Regions from separate parts of the Homo sapiens genome. Here region 2 is linked to region 1. Evidence: promoter capture Hi-C in 16 types of primary human blood cells and fetal thymus (Javierre and others, 2016). All regions are on one chromosome and are shown on one strand. Each heading gives the region's core, a stretch centred on a gene start or on the middle of the fragment in contact. The rest is flanking DNA. Distances are from core to core; before and after follow the strand shown.

Region 1 (6,925 bases), core at 757-3,256:
ATAGGGAAAAATAAGGAAAAAAAAGATAAAACATTATTTGCTCAAAATTACTACCACCGTCCAAATCTATATTTGCTATTTTCCAACCTCCTAACAGCAATTAATTCCATCCATTTGTGAGAGTAAGAGTCGAGCAATACTAGCAGGATTTAAAAGCCCAATAATTTACAGTTGAAAAATACGTAAGAGAATAAAGTTGAAAAATCCTTAGCTATCAGATACATGTCTAAATAAGCTCCTAAAATACTTGATTATGATCAGCAGCAATCACCGACTCCACTGTACAGCTCCAGTAAAAGGAAAAAAAAAAAGCAGCCCACAGACTATTCTTCACCACCCCTCCCCCAATCAAGACCTCGTGGCTGCAAGCCGGGATAAAGAGTTGTTTCTCCAACTGCTGTGGTCCTGATGGCATGCCGTTAATTTTCTCTTTTGGTGATATTGCAACGACGAGCCTGCCTTTTTCAGTTCCTTTTCCCTTTGCTGCAGTTTAGGAACAGAAGACCGGGCAGGAACACCCGAGACTGCAAAGTGCCCGCCACGCTCATGGAGCCCGGGCCGGCAGCACATGTCGCACAAGGGGGAGCGCGGCCCTGCGATTCTCCGCGTAGCCGCCAGGGGGCGGCGGGTCAGAGTCAGGCCCCGCCGGACGCGGCAACCCCCCCAACCCGTTTCCCGGCGGCAGCCGCGCGGCGACCGGCGGCGCCGAGGCCCGAGTGCGGCGGGGACGCGGGCGCGCCGCCCCTCCTTTGTGTCCCCCAGCCCCCCCGAGCCCGGCCCAGAGGGGCGGGGGCTCCGCGGCCGCGGTGCCCGTCGCACGCGGCCCGAGGCCTAAGCCGGGAACAATCGGCGGCGGCGCGCAGTCGCCGCCATGTCCCCCGCCCTCACCCCCGTGCAGCCCGCCCCGCAGGAACATGGCGGCGGGGACGCCGCTCCCGCCGAGCCGGGCTGGCCCTCCCGCGCCACACTCCCAGCAAGCGGCCGGGCGCAGGCGGCTCCACGCCGCGGCTGAGGCCGACTGCGGCCTCCTCCGAGGGCCACGGCGGGGAAGTTGCGGGCCCCGCCCCGAGGCTGCCCACGCGGGCTAACAAAGCCCACGCGGAGCGGGGGTGGCGCCCAGGCCGCGCCGATCTCGGCGCCCCTCCGCCCACCCTCGCGCGTACAAAGTTTGGGGAACCGCGGGCTCCCGCCCACGCCACGCCGCCCGCTGGCGCGCAGGTACCTCGTGGGCGCGCCCCCTCCCGGCCCGCGGCCTGCCCCATGTGCCGCCGCCGCCGCCGCTTTGTTCTGGAGGCGCTTTAACTCTCGCCCTCGGGAGAAACTTTCCTACCCAGAGACCCCACGCCCCGCGCGCGCCCCGGGCCCCGGAGAAGGCACGGGCCTCGCACGTCCTCTCCCCGAGGGGCCATTGTGTTCGCCGTCCGCCCACCCGCCTTCGGGTCGGCCCAGGCAGGGTCTGCGCGGGTCCCGGGCGCGGCCGCCACGCGCACGCCGCCCCCTCCCACCCTCCCGCCCCGGCCCTGCCCCCCTCCGCCGGCCCGCGGGCGAGCGAGGGGGCAGCCAGATGCGGCTGCCACACGCCGGGGCGGCCAACGGCCGAGACCCGCCCCGGCCACGCCGCCGCCGCCACGCTGCCCCGGGCCAGTCCGCCCCGGGCCGCTCCGCCCCGCCCGCCAGACCCGGGCCGCACACAACAGGTTTCCCTCCGTCGCCGGAGGGGCGGGCAGACTCACCAGGAGGAGTAGCCGCCACCATCTTCGGCTGGCCGGCCGCGGGCTCCTGCTCCCGCCTCCCCGCCCGCCTGCGCTTTACTACGACCGGAGGCCCCAGGCCGGGGGTGCGGCCGGCCGGCCCGCCCCGCGAGGAGAGCTTCGCGGAGGAGCGCGAGCCCCGGCGGCGCTGCGGTAGTCGTCCCCACCCCCTCGGCCTCGCCCGAGGGCGCGAAGTGGCGCGAAGGCGCAGGTCGGGCGGCGGCGGCGGCACCTCGAAGGACCATGTGGGTGAATGAAGGGCGGCGGCTCCCGCCTCAACGTAAATACGGACAAGCCCCACTCCCTCATTAGCATAAAAAACAAAGTACTTCCGACCTCCCCGCCCGCCCGCCAATCACCGCAGGCCCCGCCCACGGCGGCTCGTTCTTGGCGGCCGGGAGAGCGGGAGCCGGGAGCCGCTGGCGGCGCCGCGCAGCCTTCCCCGGGCCGCGCTCCCCCGTGGCCCGCCCACCGCCGCCAGCCTCGCGGAGCGCCTCGCCCGAACACCTCGCGCCACGCCTCCGGCACGCCCTCCGTTAACAAGCTCTGCGCGCGTGCAGACCCCCGCGCGCCGCACACCCTCCTGGAAGCGCACGCTTCCCGGGGCTTCCTGGGAGCCCTGCTCTCCCTGGGACTCGACGTGTACGCTGTGCGATCACAGTTTATTACTTTACCGGCCCTTGGTGGGTTTCCGAGGTAATTAGGGGCCTGCTCCAGGCCAACCGGAACCAGAGAAGTAAAATCCAGTGACTTTAACATCGAAACAGAATTACTCGCTGCAAAGATCGTTTGAGACCCAGAAATAAATACATTACACCCGACACTCTTGTGAATGCACACTTCGTGGCAATGTGTTTCCTTAACCTGGCCGCGTGTAAACCAAAACGCATGCCCGAGCAGAGGTTTCACAGCTGCAGTACCTGAGCCTCCCCTCTCATGCCCAGCTGCATTTAGTAAGAACTCTGGGTTCTCCAGTAGAAATAGCATAGCTCGGAAAGAACCTCATAAACAACCACAAAGCTGAGAAAAGAAGCCCAATCAGGAGCACCTCCTTCTTCACATTGTGGTTCAGGAAATTCCGGAATTCTCAGAAACATAATTGTTAAAAGTGAGGATTCATAACATTTACGAGAAATACAGCAATTATAAATTGGTTTAAATCTAGTAAGTAGCTACTGCAAAGCACATATCACTGGTTCGTGATTGTACAAGTCAACTGTAAAACACACATTACCAAAGGATGTCTTTAATGCCCCAATGTTAAAATTTTTGACATTCAAACCTTGACAGTATTGTCATTTACTGTCTTTGACTTATTTTATCATGCTTTGCTTAAATCCAATTGTCAAACTAGTGATGACATAAAAAATAGTGGATTAAAGTTTTGCTACTCTTTTTTTTATTGAGTCTAGTTTCTAGATATTCCTTTCTTTGTAAATCAAAATAAAAGGCCAAATCTGAAATTTTACAATATCTAATATTTCTGTAATATAGTCATTTATGAACGTTTCAAAGAGGAAAACACTGCTAATTTTATTACAAGTCTAATTTTACGTTACTTTTGGTCGGCATTGACTAATATGTCAATGCCTTTTTCTTTAAAACTTTATCTTCTGTTTCAAATTAGAATGGTTGAGGCGGGGGGATGTTGTGAGTAAGATTGTTCATCACACTCTCTGAATCATGGGAAATCCCACCTATATACAGGTTTCTTAGCAGGAGTTATTCATCTCATAGTTTCCTTCCAATTAAAGTCAACATTGAAATACTACTAGCTTTAAAAAGCTGTTTTTAGGTATCTCACTATATTTCTGTGGAAATCTGACATACAAGCAACTATTTTCTGTGACTACAGTATAAGAAATAATTCTTAATGTATACCCTTTTTTATGGTAATCAGGATTTTGGAAGACGCAAATTCATTTAAACCTACTGACTTGGAAATTCCAGAAAGTTTCAGAATTAGTAGGTTGCATTTTAAGGGTTTCGCTCATACTTCCTTTCAAAATTAATAAATTATCTTAAGTATAATTAGAATAATTGAAAACGTTTTAATCCCAAATGAATTTGAAGCTTAGCCAACTTGATGTTTTTTGGAAGTCACTACTAGTGAGAAACCTATCTTCCCTGATTTTAGGGGCCACACTTGGGTATACTTGATAACTAAAGGGAAGATTTTTGTGGTTATAATTTTGAAGATCACAAAAATATGTGAACTGCTAACAAATGCCTTCTGCAACCAAGGAATGTAAAAATAAAGCAATCTGAAATGCCAAAGTGAGACACACAGCCTTCTCAAGTCAGCTAAAACACAGTACTGTTTTACACAATCCAGAACATTCAGAACGTTTTAGATAAAATGAAAAGCTCAGTTCAACGTCAGAGCAGTTCTATATAGCCCTCAGTTTACATGATATATAGAAAGTAATAGAGAATATCTGTATTTTTTACTTTTTACCCATGTGTTTCGGTCTTATAGATGTTATGAATTAAGAAGATCTGAAAAGTTATTGACCTTGTAAATAATATTGAGGATTTTATTTCCTACCTTTTATTGTTTAACTATGTCAGTATCAACTGAGTTAAATGTGTTGAATTTTTGAAAGATAAATTCAGTTAAAATGTTGTGTTTTAGCATAATTATAGAATTTAAGAAACTAATAAAACAATAATCACATTCACATTATAGATGTGAAAACATAGGAATGATGCAAGAATCTAAGTTAAAGACAACTTCTAGTGTTATTTTAAACCTGTATTTATATATAATTTAAATAGTAATTCAGAGGGTCTAAAAATTGGCTAAGCAATTAAGTATATTTCATATTTTTGCGAATTGGCATTTTTAACATAGATGCCTATAAGTATGTATTATTTTCCCACAGCATTTGTATTTTACGGAAAAGGAATACAAATTTAAACACCACGTTGAGTTCAGAAAGTGAACTGGTTATAAACTGAGAACATTTTGGACTCTTGTAATGTAGCAAACAGTAATCAATAACACACATTCAATGATGAAATTTGGGATTTTTTTTACAATATATATCTATAAATGTCTGAAAAGACACAGTCTAGTCCTCCCATATTAATTATGTTTTCCATTGAAACTGTTCGGTCCACTTTAGCAATTATGTATTATGTGTCTGCTATGCTTGCACTGGTCAAAGATATAAGGAGGGATAAGACAGAACCCGTGTCCATGAAAAGTTTAGGAACTCCAGAATATTATTGATTACCACGAATCTTTCACAAATAAGCTGAAGATTTCATGTCTTCAACCTTTTTTTTTTTTTACTTGTTCCAATGTCTAATCCAACTGTTATTCTGATGGCAGGTTATTTTACATCCTTAATTTAGAATTTAGAACATCTGCATTTTGTTTATGGTAGTAGATAATCCTGCATAACATGAATATATGAATTATTCACTACAAATGACATTCCAAGATGCTACTAATGACAATAAATTTATAGTGAACACAAAGACCATAATCATTTAACCTGATAGACTTAAGGTTTTGGAATTAAGAAATTATAAATTATAGAGGGAAAAATGAACGTGTGTGGTTTTGAATAAAGAAGCAATTTGAAAAAATTACTCTGTTTTCATATCTTTGAAGTTGTTACTGTGGTACTCTGTAGAACCAGATGGGTATAATTATTATTTAATTAAGAAAAATAGACAGAATAGGTATTATTTGTCACAATAAAGAGGATACAGTCTCTACCCTTAAGGAAGTTTGCTATGCATTGATGTCTATCAGTATATGTAAAGTGGTATGGCTTTTATAAAACTAATACATTTTGAATTTAAACATTTAAAGGCAATATATTGTTATGGTACATCGTGGTAAAGTGTTTCACTAGTTTTTCATTTGTTTTCACTAGAAGAATGAAACATCAAAATTGGAAATGGCTTATTTTCAATTTCTTGTTCTTAACTCAGTGGTTCCCAGCCCAGCTGTACTTTACAATCAACCAAGAGCCTTTGAAACATGCAAATGTGTGACCCTTACTTGCAGATATTCTAATTTAGGTGGTAAGAAGTGGGGCCAAAATCCTTTTCAAAAAATTCCCTGGTCATACTTATATGAATCACGACTGACAAGCTCTGGTACTTAGTTCTTGAATGAAATAAAAATGTTTGATTAATCATTACTATTAGCTGATTAATCTTGATAAATGTTTGTGCCTGTTTTTATCTCTATTGCATATGTATGTTATTAATTAACACATAAGGAAGCAATGAGAAACTGGCCCAGGATATTGCAACTCCTTCATCAAGGAGTTATGGGCATAAAGTTTAAAAAAAAGAGAGACAGAAAACCTTCAGAAATAATTCTGAAAACTTAATGCCTTACACTGTAGTAACCTTGTTTGGGAAGACACATTGGTAATTAGAGTGCTGTTATATCTTTGCTATCTGGGGTTGAAGTTTAATTTAACTAACAAATATACTTAATCTTGGAAAAATTATTCCTCACATGGATTGTGTTATGTTTGAAAAAAATTCTCTGGAGTGGACATGTTTAGATATGATAAATTGAATTTGTTCTCAATCACTTAGCAGTGAAAAAGGGCTACGTAGAGATCACCTGGATCATCCACAAATTTTTTTTAAATAATAAAAGACAACAACAAGAAGTGTCCAGGGCAGAGAAATTGCCAAATACTACTGATTTTAGTTAATTTCATTCAATTTTCTAAACTCTTCTTAGGTTTTTCTTGTTTGTGTGTTTGCTTGTTTGTTTGTTTTAATATTCTTGCTTTCAAATGTAGGATTTACCTTCAGTTTTTCCCAGAAGAAACAAGTTGATTCAGCCTATCATGTGGCTGTATTCTGCTAGATAATAGTTCTAGAAACAACTTAAGATATTGATTATATAATTTGGTCCTTAAGATTGCTCAAAATAACACAAATTTGACAGTTGTCCTACTATTTCACAAAACTATACTTAAGTACCAATATTCATCTTAACCATCAAGCCTAATAATTTCTATGTATATCAAGATGATGAAAATTTATTTTTATTTTGTGTAAATTGTGATGGGTTATTTATATCTTTAATAATTTGCCTTTCTGGGGGCACTTTAAAAGTTGGATAGCAACGTGTTCAGAAGGAATATTTATGAAGGTTCAATTGCTGTATTTCTAAAAGTGTGCAAAGAATA
Region 2 (6,925 bases), core at 1-2,500, about 19 Mb before region 1:
ACCTGACATGCCAGGGCTGAGCAGGTACGAAATACCTTGGCATTCCTGCCTTGTCGGAGTCTCAGGGCACCTACGAAGGAGGCAACGGGCCTATTTCCCTTTACAGGACACCTTCAGGACACGGGTTTTAACCTGCTCAGGGTCTCATCGCCTTTCCCAGCCAGGCCAGCGGCCAGAGTGACACTGTCCCCCAGGGTTTAACTTAGAGTCCATTCTACCTCTCATTTTCTCTAAAAAACCCCAACCAACCAACTAACCAAATTCTACACGCTGCATATTTTAAAAGCATTTCAAGGTTTATCCTTTAAAACGGAAGGAGGACCTGGGAGGCCGAAGCGGGTGGATCACGAGGTCAGGAGTTCGAGACCAGCCTGGCCAACATGGTGAAACCCCGTGTCTACTAAAAATACAAAAATTAGCCGGGCATGGTGGCACATACCTGTAATCCCGCCTACTCGGGAGGCTGAGGCAGGAGAATCGCTTGAAACCGGAAGGCGGAGGTTGCAGTGAGCCGAGATCGCGCACTGCTCTCCAGCTTGGGCAACAACAGCAAAACTCCGTGTCAAAAATAAAAAAAAAAAAAAAAAAAGAAGGAGGAAATATTTCTCAAGTAGCGACTGCAACTTCCATAGTCAAATTTTCATTCCAAGCTATAAATGGAGATGACTGTCCACTTTTCAGGACAAAAAGCTTCTTGCAAAAGTAGAAGAGCAAAAGCAAAATCCTCCACTAGAAAGCGCCCCCATCTCTAATCTGTAACAGTGAGAGCCTCAGGACGAGTTCCGCAGACGCTCATTTAAAGCAAACTTTTTCAATGACCTTGAGGGTGGCTGTACTTACACGCGGAGAAGCAAATCGACCGCAGCTGGAAAGGCGCTGGGTCGAGCGTGAGAGGAACACGGGTTTTACCTAAGGGAGAGTGGAAGAGAGAAGGGGGTTCCCCAAGGGCCCCGGCCCCTTCGCCTCGTTCGGGCCCCGCGGCCAAGCTCCTCGCACCGCAGCCCCGGCTGTGCAGAAGCGGAGGGGCGGAAGGTGCTCTCAGAACTTTCATTTTCCACCCTGCAGCAGTCCCGAGCCTCGGCTGGAGAACTCGGATGCTTGCGAAACGGCGAGGTCCAGCAGGGGCGGGACGGGGGCGGTGGGCGGAGGAGGATAGGGCGGGGCCGCGGCGGTGAAAGGGCCCGGGGGCGGGGGCGGGGGCGGGGCGAGGCGAGGCCGCCGCGGTCCGGGCCCCCGACGTGGGCTCCGTGCTCTGCACCCAGCTCCTTCCCGGGCGCGCACACGCGCTTCCTCTCTTGAGCTCCCGGGCGTCCGGAGGCGAAGGTCCCGGAGCGTTCACGAGAATCCGGGTCCCGGCGAGTCCGGGGTCCGCTCCTCCAGCTGCGCCCAGGGCGCACGAGCCGGCCAGCCTCGGGGAGAGGGCGCGGGGGCGCTGGGGGTTCTTACGGGAAGATGAGGAAGCCCGACAGCAAGATCGTGCTCCTGGGGGACATGAACGTGGGGAAGACGTCGCTGCTGCAGCGGTATATGGAGCGGCGCTTCCCGGACACGGTCAGCACGGTGGGCGGCGCCTTCTACCTGAAGCAGTGGCGCTCCTACAACATCTCCATCTGGGACACCGCAGGTGAGGCCGGCGCCGCATGAGCCACACCGCCCTGGGGCTCCGCCGGGGACGGGGGGCGCGGGGCTTCCAGCAGGGCACCCGGCCGCGCACAGGGTCCCGGCCTCGGACAGCAAATGCCTCCTTCTCGGGGTTTCCCACTCGTCCTCCCTTGCTGGTTGGGCTGAGCGCTGCCTCTCAGCCACTCAGTGACCTCAGGGACAACCCAAGTTGCAGAGAACCCGCTGGTCATTTGTGTACCTAAGCTGCCTTTGCTCCCGAGCCCCGCGTTCCTGCTCTGCCGCCCTGGGAACCAGAGACGCTCCTCTGTGGCTGCTTTGTTAGGTATTTTCAGTTTTCACGTACCCGTAGGAACATGATATCCTTTGAGATTCACTTGAGGGGTGAGCAGAGCTGGTGTTATTAGCCCCTTTCTAAGAAAAAGTAAAATGAGGCACAGAGTGTTCCCCCCTGTTGGGTTTAGTCAGGAGAGAGGAAATAAAACTGGAGCCTCCGGACCTCTTAGCCCGGAGCATATCTGCCTTTTACAGTTAATCTTCTGCTTGATCTTGGCTCAGATACGTCATATGGGTTTGGGTTGGAGTGACTTCCGGTGGAAGCATTTTTAAGATAGGTAATGAGTTATTTTTATTGTGTAGTATTTGTGACTTTTCAAAAGTACAACTTAGAGGATCTCAATTCAGGCTTTCTGTTTAACTTTGGAAAATAACACTGGTGATTGTAGCATTGCAATGGAATATATTTCCTTCTCCTTACAAAAGAATAAGATATTGTAAGTGAATGAAGAAACTGGAAATAGTGTGACACATTTTCAATGAGTGTGAGTTTTTAGAAGCCTGAAACTCTGAAAGTTCTGACTTCTTTTATGTTAGCATCTTAAAAAGTCATATACCCAAAGGCCCCGTCCAGAATTCTTAAATTGCCATCTTGGGTGTATCAGTATGCTGAATAAACAAGATGATAATGAATTCTCTCTTTAAAACTGAATTAACGAAGCTCACAGAGGTACTTCCAGTTCTCCCCCTCCCTTTTGCCTTCTTTGATGCTTTTTTATTATTATCCCAGTTAACATCGTGACTAATTTATTGGCAATCATCTTGTGAAAACAATGTCCCCCAGGTAAAGAGGTGCATTTCCCTGATCTTTGCTCCAACTCTGTCTTCTGCCTCAGGCTGCAGGATGAGGTTTACTGAGCTGACTCCCTCACACTGAGCATTTGGTAACGATGGAACACACGCTCTAGAAGTCAAATCGAACCCAATTCACGAACCCAATTTGCTTCTGTACAAAGTCAAATTGAACCCAATTTGGTTTTGTACAAAGCTTTGCCCCTCTGCTGCTTTTGCTGGTTGGCTGGGATTTACTGCTGCCCTTGGTTTACAAGTAGCAAGGTTAATGCAGGAGTGTTATTGGGGGACCCTAACCGAAACCCCTGTAGTGGCCACCGTTGGAGGCAGACTCTTAACACACGGTGTGTTTCTGGAACAAGAGCTGCCCTGCAGTGCTGGAACGGCCCCTGCATCGGAGGGAATGAAGCAGCAGTTTCGTTTCCACTGGCCTCTTGCTTCTTCAGCACCAAGGACGTGATGCAGCCGGAATCCTGATCACCAGAGATTTTGCAGTTGTGCTGATGTGACGCCCCAGATGTCTTGAAGCGTTACTGGGGGGCAGCAGCTCATTTCCTGGCATCCGAGGCTGCTGCTGCTTGTTCGAAAGATCCTAAGGGTGAATTACTAGAGCTCCTCAGAACAGAGAGTGGCCAGGCCCCTTCTCCACATTCCTGACTTCCTGTGTACACACTCAGGCGGCCCTTGCCCAGAGTTGGCAGGGACACAGGGCACCCTTGCCTGCCTCCTCGGTGGCCTGTGGCCTGACCGGGTACTTGAAGGGAAAAGAGAGGTAGGAACAGATACCTTTTCTATAATTGTTGGAAATTCAGAATTTAACATTTAGGGGACCCTGTTCTTTTCCTTCTTTTGCTGAGCTCCTAAACTTTCTCTCCACCCCACAGACATTGCTTTTCAAGTTGTTTTTGTTGTAATTGTCATAACCGAGGCAGAATGGTAAGGACCAGCCGGAGGAGGAACCATTTTGAAAGTTGCTTTTAGCCACACAAGGCAGGGTGGGCTGGGGTGGGGGTGCAGGTGTGCAGAGGGCGACAGGATGTTTAATAGTAAAAACGATTGCATGGGGGTCAGTGTACACCCAATGCCTGGCTGCTTGTAGCCTGCAAGGCAGGCAGTGGATGGAGCTGAAGAGGGGGAAGAGAGTTGGCAGGGCAGAAGTACATTACCCTATTCCATTGACACAACAGTCCTCCAGAGGGAGGTGTGATTATTTGCATGTTAAAGATGGGGCCAGGCGTGGTGGCTCATGCCTGTAATCCCAGCACTTTGGGAGGCTGAGGTGGGTGGATCACGAGGTCAAGAGATCAAGACCATCCTGGCTAACATGGTGAAACCCCATCTCTACTAAACATACAAAAGTTAGCAGGGCGTGGTGGCGCACACCTGTAGTCCCAGCTACTCGGGAGGCTGAGGCAGGAGAATCGCTTGAACCAGGAGGCAGAGGTTGCAGTGAGCCAAGATTGTGCCACTGCACTCCAACCCGGTGACAGAGCGAGACTCTGTCTCAAAAAAAAAAAAAAAAAAAAAAACAGATGGGAAGACAGGGCTGCGCGGTGGCTCATGCCTGTAATCCCAGCACTTTAGGAGGGTGAGGCGGGCAGATCACCTAAGGTCAGGAGTTCAAGACCAGCCTGGTTAATGTGGTGAACCCGTGTCTACTAAAAATACAAAAATTAGCTGGGTGTGGTGGCTGGCGCCTGTAATCCTAGCTACTTGGGAGGCTGTGGCAGGAGAATCGCTTGAACCCTGGAGGCGGAGGTTGCAGTGAGCCAAGATTGCGCCATTGCACTCCAGCCTGGGTGACAAGAGTAAGACTCTGTCTCAAAAAAAAAAAAAAAAAAAAGTGGGAAGACAGCAGAAGTTAAGTGGGATTTAGACCTTGGTTCATCCAACTCCAACTCACCTTGTCTCATTATGCCCTTTTAGGGGGCACTTGCCACTCCCAGCCCTTGTCTAATTGGGCACACAGATGTGGAGTGGTTGCTGTGCATGGGTGGGTACATCCAGGAAGCAAAAGGAGGTTGCCCAGCGAGGAGGCAGAGCCCTAGAAGACGTACTGCTGTGCTCCTCTGTGTTGCCCGGTTGCTCAGGACAGCCTAAAGTGGTGTTGCCTGTTGTTGGCAAATATAAACTGAGGCTCCCCGGTGCCGGGCACTGTTTGGGCCCTCGTTCTACAGCAGTGAGCAGGCCGGCTGGCCGCTGCCCCGCAGGCCCTGGATTCCAGAGGAGGGGGAAAGGCAGGCAAGAAGTGAATGGTACAGCTTCACATCTGATCGTTGCTCTGAAGAAAATACGACAGGCTGATGAGAAAGCGGCTGGTGTGCCCAGCACAGACCTGGTCCCCAGAGCCCTGGAGACAGAATGCTCTCCACATTTGTTTTCCTTCCCTTCTAAAGGCCGTGGCCTGGCGGCCGGGAGGCGGGGGGAGCAGGGGCATTACCTGACTCACGTTTGCATCCCCAGCACCTGGCCCTTGAAGAGCCAGCTTGGAAGGCGGCGGGGAGCCCAGACTTGCGCCACTTCCCTGTGCCGGCATCCAGCTCCAGCTGCGTCTCTGGGGACTGGGTGTTGGAGAGAGTGAGTGCATTTTGCATGTGGAATGGATGCACGTCTGTGGGAGCCTGAAGCCAGGCTGTGACAGACAGAATAGTGGCCACCGCAAAGATGAGACATCTTGGTCTCTTGAGAGTCCTCTGGCCTTTGGGTCCTTCTGAGGCACCAGCAGAAGGTTATGTGGCCACACCAGGGCCTCCTCTCCAGCACAGGCGTTCCGGATGGTGGGCCTCCTAGTGTGAGCCTCCCAGCAATCTGCCTGACTGAGGACTTCCCACATCACCAAGTCCTGCTCCTCTTTGTTCGACAATTCTTCCCTCATCCTATCTGTTCTTCCTCATCTTAATATAAACAGCAAGAAAAATCCACACCTTCAACACTTTGCTTGGAAATCTCCTCAGCTACATATCCAACTTCATCACACAGTGATGCTTCCCTCACAGCTGTGGGGCACGACTCAGCTGAGCTCTCTGGCACCACATCCTCCCTCCTCCAGCTTCTGATAACACAGTCCTCATTCAGACCCCAGGCTTCCACCTGTAATTGGCTCCTTCTGGTGGAGGTGTTCACTACGAGGATGCAGGTTTTCTCTGCTATGCTTCTCGCTTCCTTCTGATTCCTCACCAGCAGGGCTGTTCATGTGCACCTTCCTGCCAACCATCTGTTTAGGCCAATCCGGGCTGCCCTCTCATGATCCTCAGATCCTCCCAGATCTGCCATTGCCCAGTTCTAAAGCCACTTCCATATTCGTGACAGCCTCTCTCTGCTCCCAGTTCCAAAGTCTGTGTCAGTTTCCTATTGCTGCTATAACAAATTAGTTACTTAAAACAACACAAATTTGCTGGGCATGGTAGCTCCTGCCTGTAATCCCAGCATTTTAGGAGGCTGAAGTGAAAGGATCACCTGAACCTAGGAGTTCAAGACCAGCCTGGGCAACACAGGGAGACGGTTTCTACAAAGAATAAAGAAGTTAGCCAGGTGTAGTGGTGCGCACCTGTAGTCCCAGCTACTTGGGAGGCTGAGGTAAGAGGATTTCTTGAGCCTGGGAGGTTGAGGCTGCAGTGAGCCATGATCATACCACTGCACTCCAGCCTGGGCAACAGAGTAAGACCCTGTCTCAAATGAATAAATAAATAAAAATTAAAACCATAGATATATTGTCTTTAAGTAGTCTGGAGGTCAGAAGTCCCAAATGAGTCTCTCACTGGGCTAAAGTCAAAGCTTGCAGGATTGCATTCCTTTCTGGAGGCTGAAGGGAGGAACCTGTTTCTTAGACTTTCCTAGCTTCTGGAGCCTGCCTGATTTCCTGGTTTTATCCTCTCTCCGAAAAGGCAGTCAGGTCAGGTCTGTCCTACACAGCATCCCTCTGAACCAGCCCCTCTGCTTCCCTCTTCTAAGGGTTTAAAGGACCCCTGTGATTTTGTGGGATCCATCCTGGCCCTTGTTTTCAGGGTGGTTGACTGGCAGGCTCAGCGTCCCTCACCCATGTGATGAGGGCACAGGTTCTGGAGATCAGGGCATCTGCCGACCACAGCTGTGGCTGTGGCTGTGTCACCTCCTTTTGCATCAGGCTCCTCCTGTGTAATAAGGGAAGAAAGGGGCACCTGTCTGAGCTTTGTTAGGA

What was found. The method cuts DNA at HindIII sites, captures the fragments that hold promoters and counts their contacts. A CHiCAGO score of 5 or more calls a contact.
Region 2: the fragment with the promoter of RAB20 here is called in contact with the fragment with the promoter of MIR17HG in region 1 in 1 of 17 cell types (non-activated CD4 T cells); the score reaches 5.0 in non-activated CD4 T cells.

Annotation. Positions count from the first base shown.
Region 1 is chr13:91,342,768-91,349,692 of GRCh38, reverse strand. MIR17HG (miR-17-92a-1 cluster host gene) reads right to left here and starts at 2,006. Exons shown (of 3, transcript NR_197388.1): 1 at 1,734-2,006. RefSeq lists enhancers at 1-420, 421-968, 2,438-2,517 and silencers at 518-1,507, 1,558-2,337. The HindIII fragment of the contact is 6,871 bases long and covers 1-3,826 here.
Region 2 is chr13:110,556,047-110,562,971 of GRCh38, reverse strand. It overlaps RAB20 (RAB20, member RAS oncogene family), which reads left to right and starts at 1,250. Exons shown (of 2, transcript NM_017817.3): 1 at 1,250-1,624. The coding sequence starts at 1,453. RefSeq lists silencers at 1,121-1,570, 1,462-1,651, 1,631-1,690 and enhancers at 4,532-5,054, 5,055-5,578. The HindIII fragment of the contact is 2,254 bases long and covers 693-2,946 here.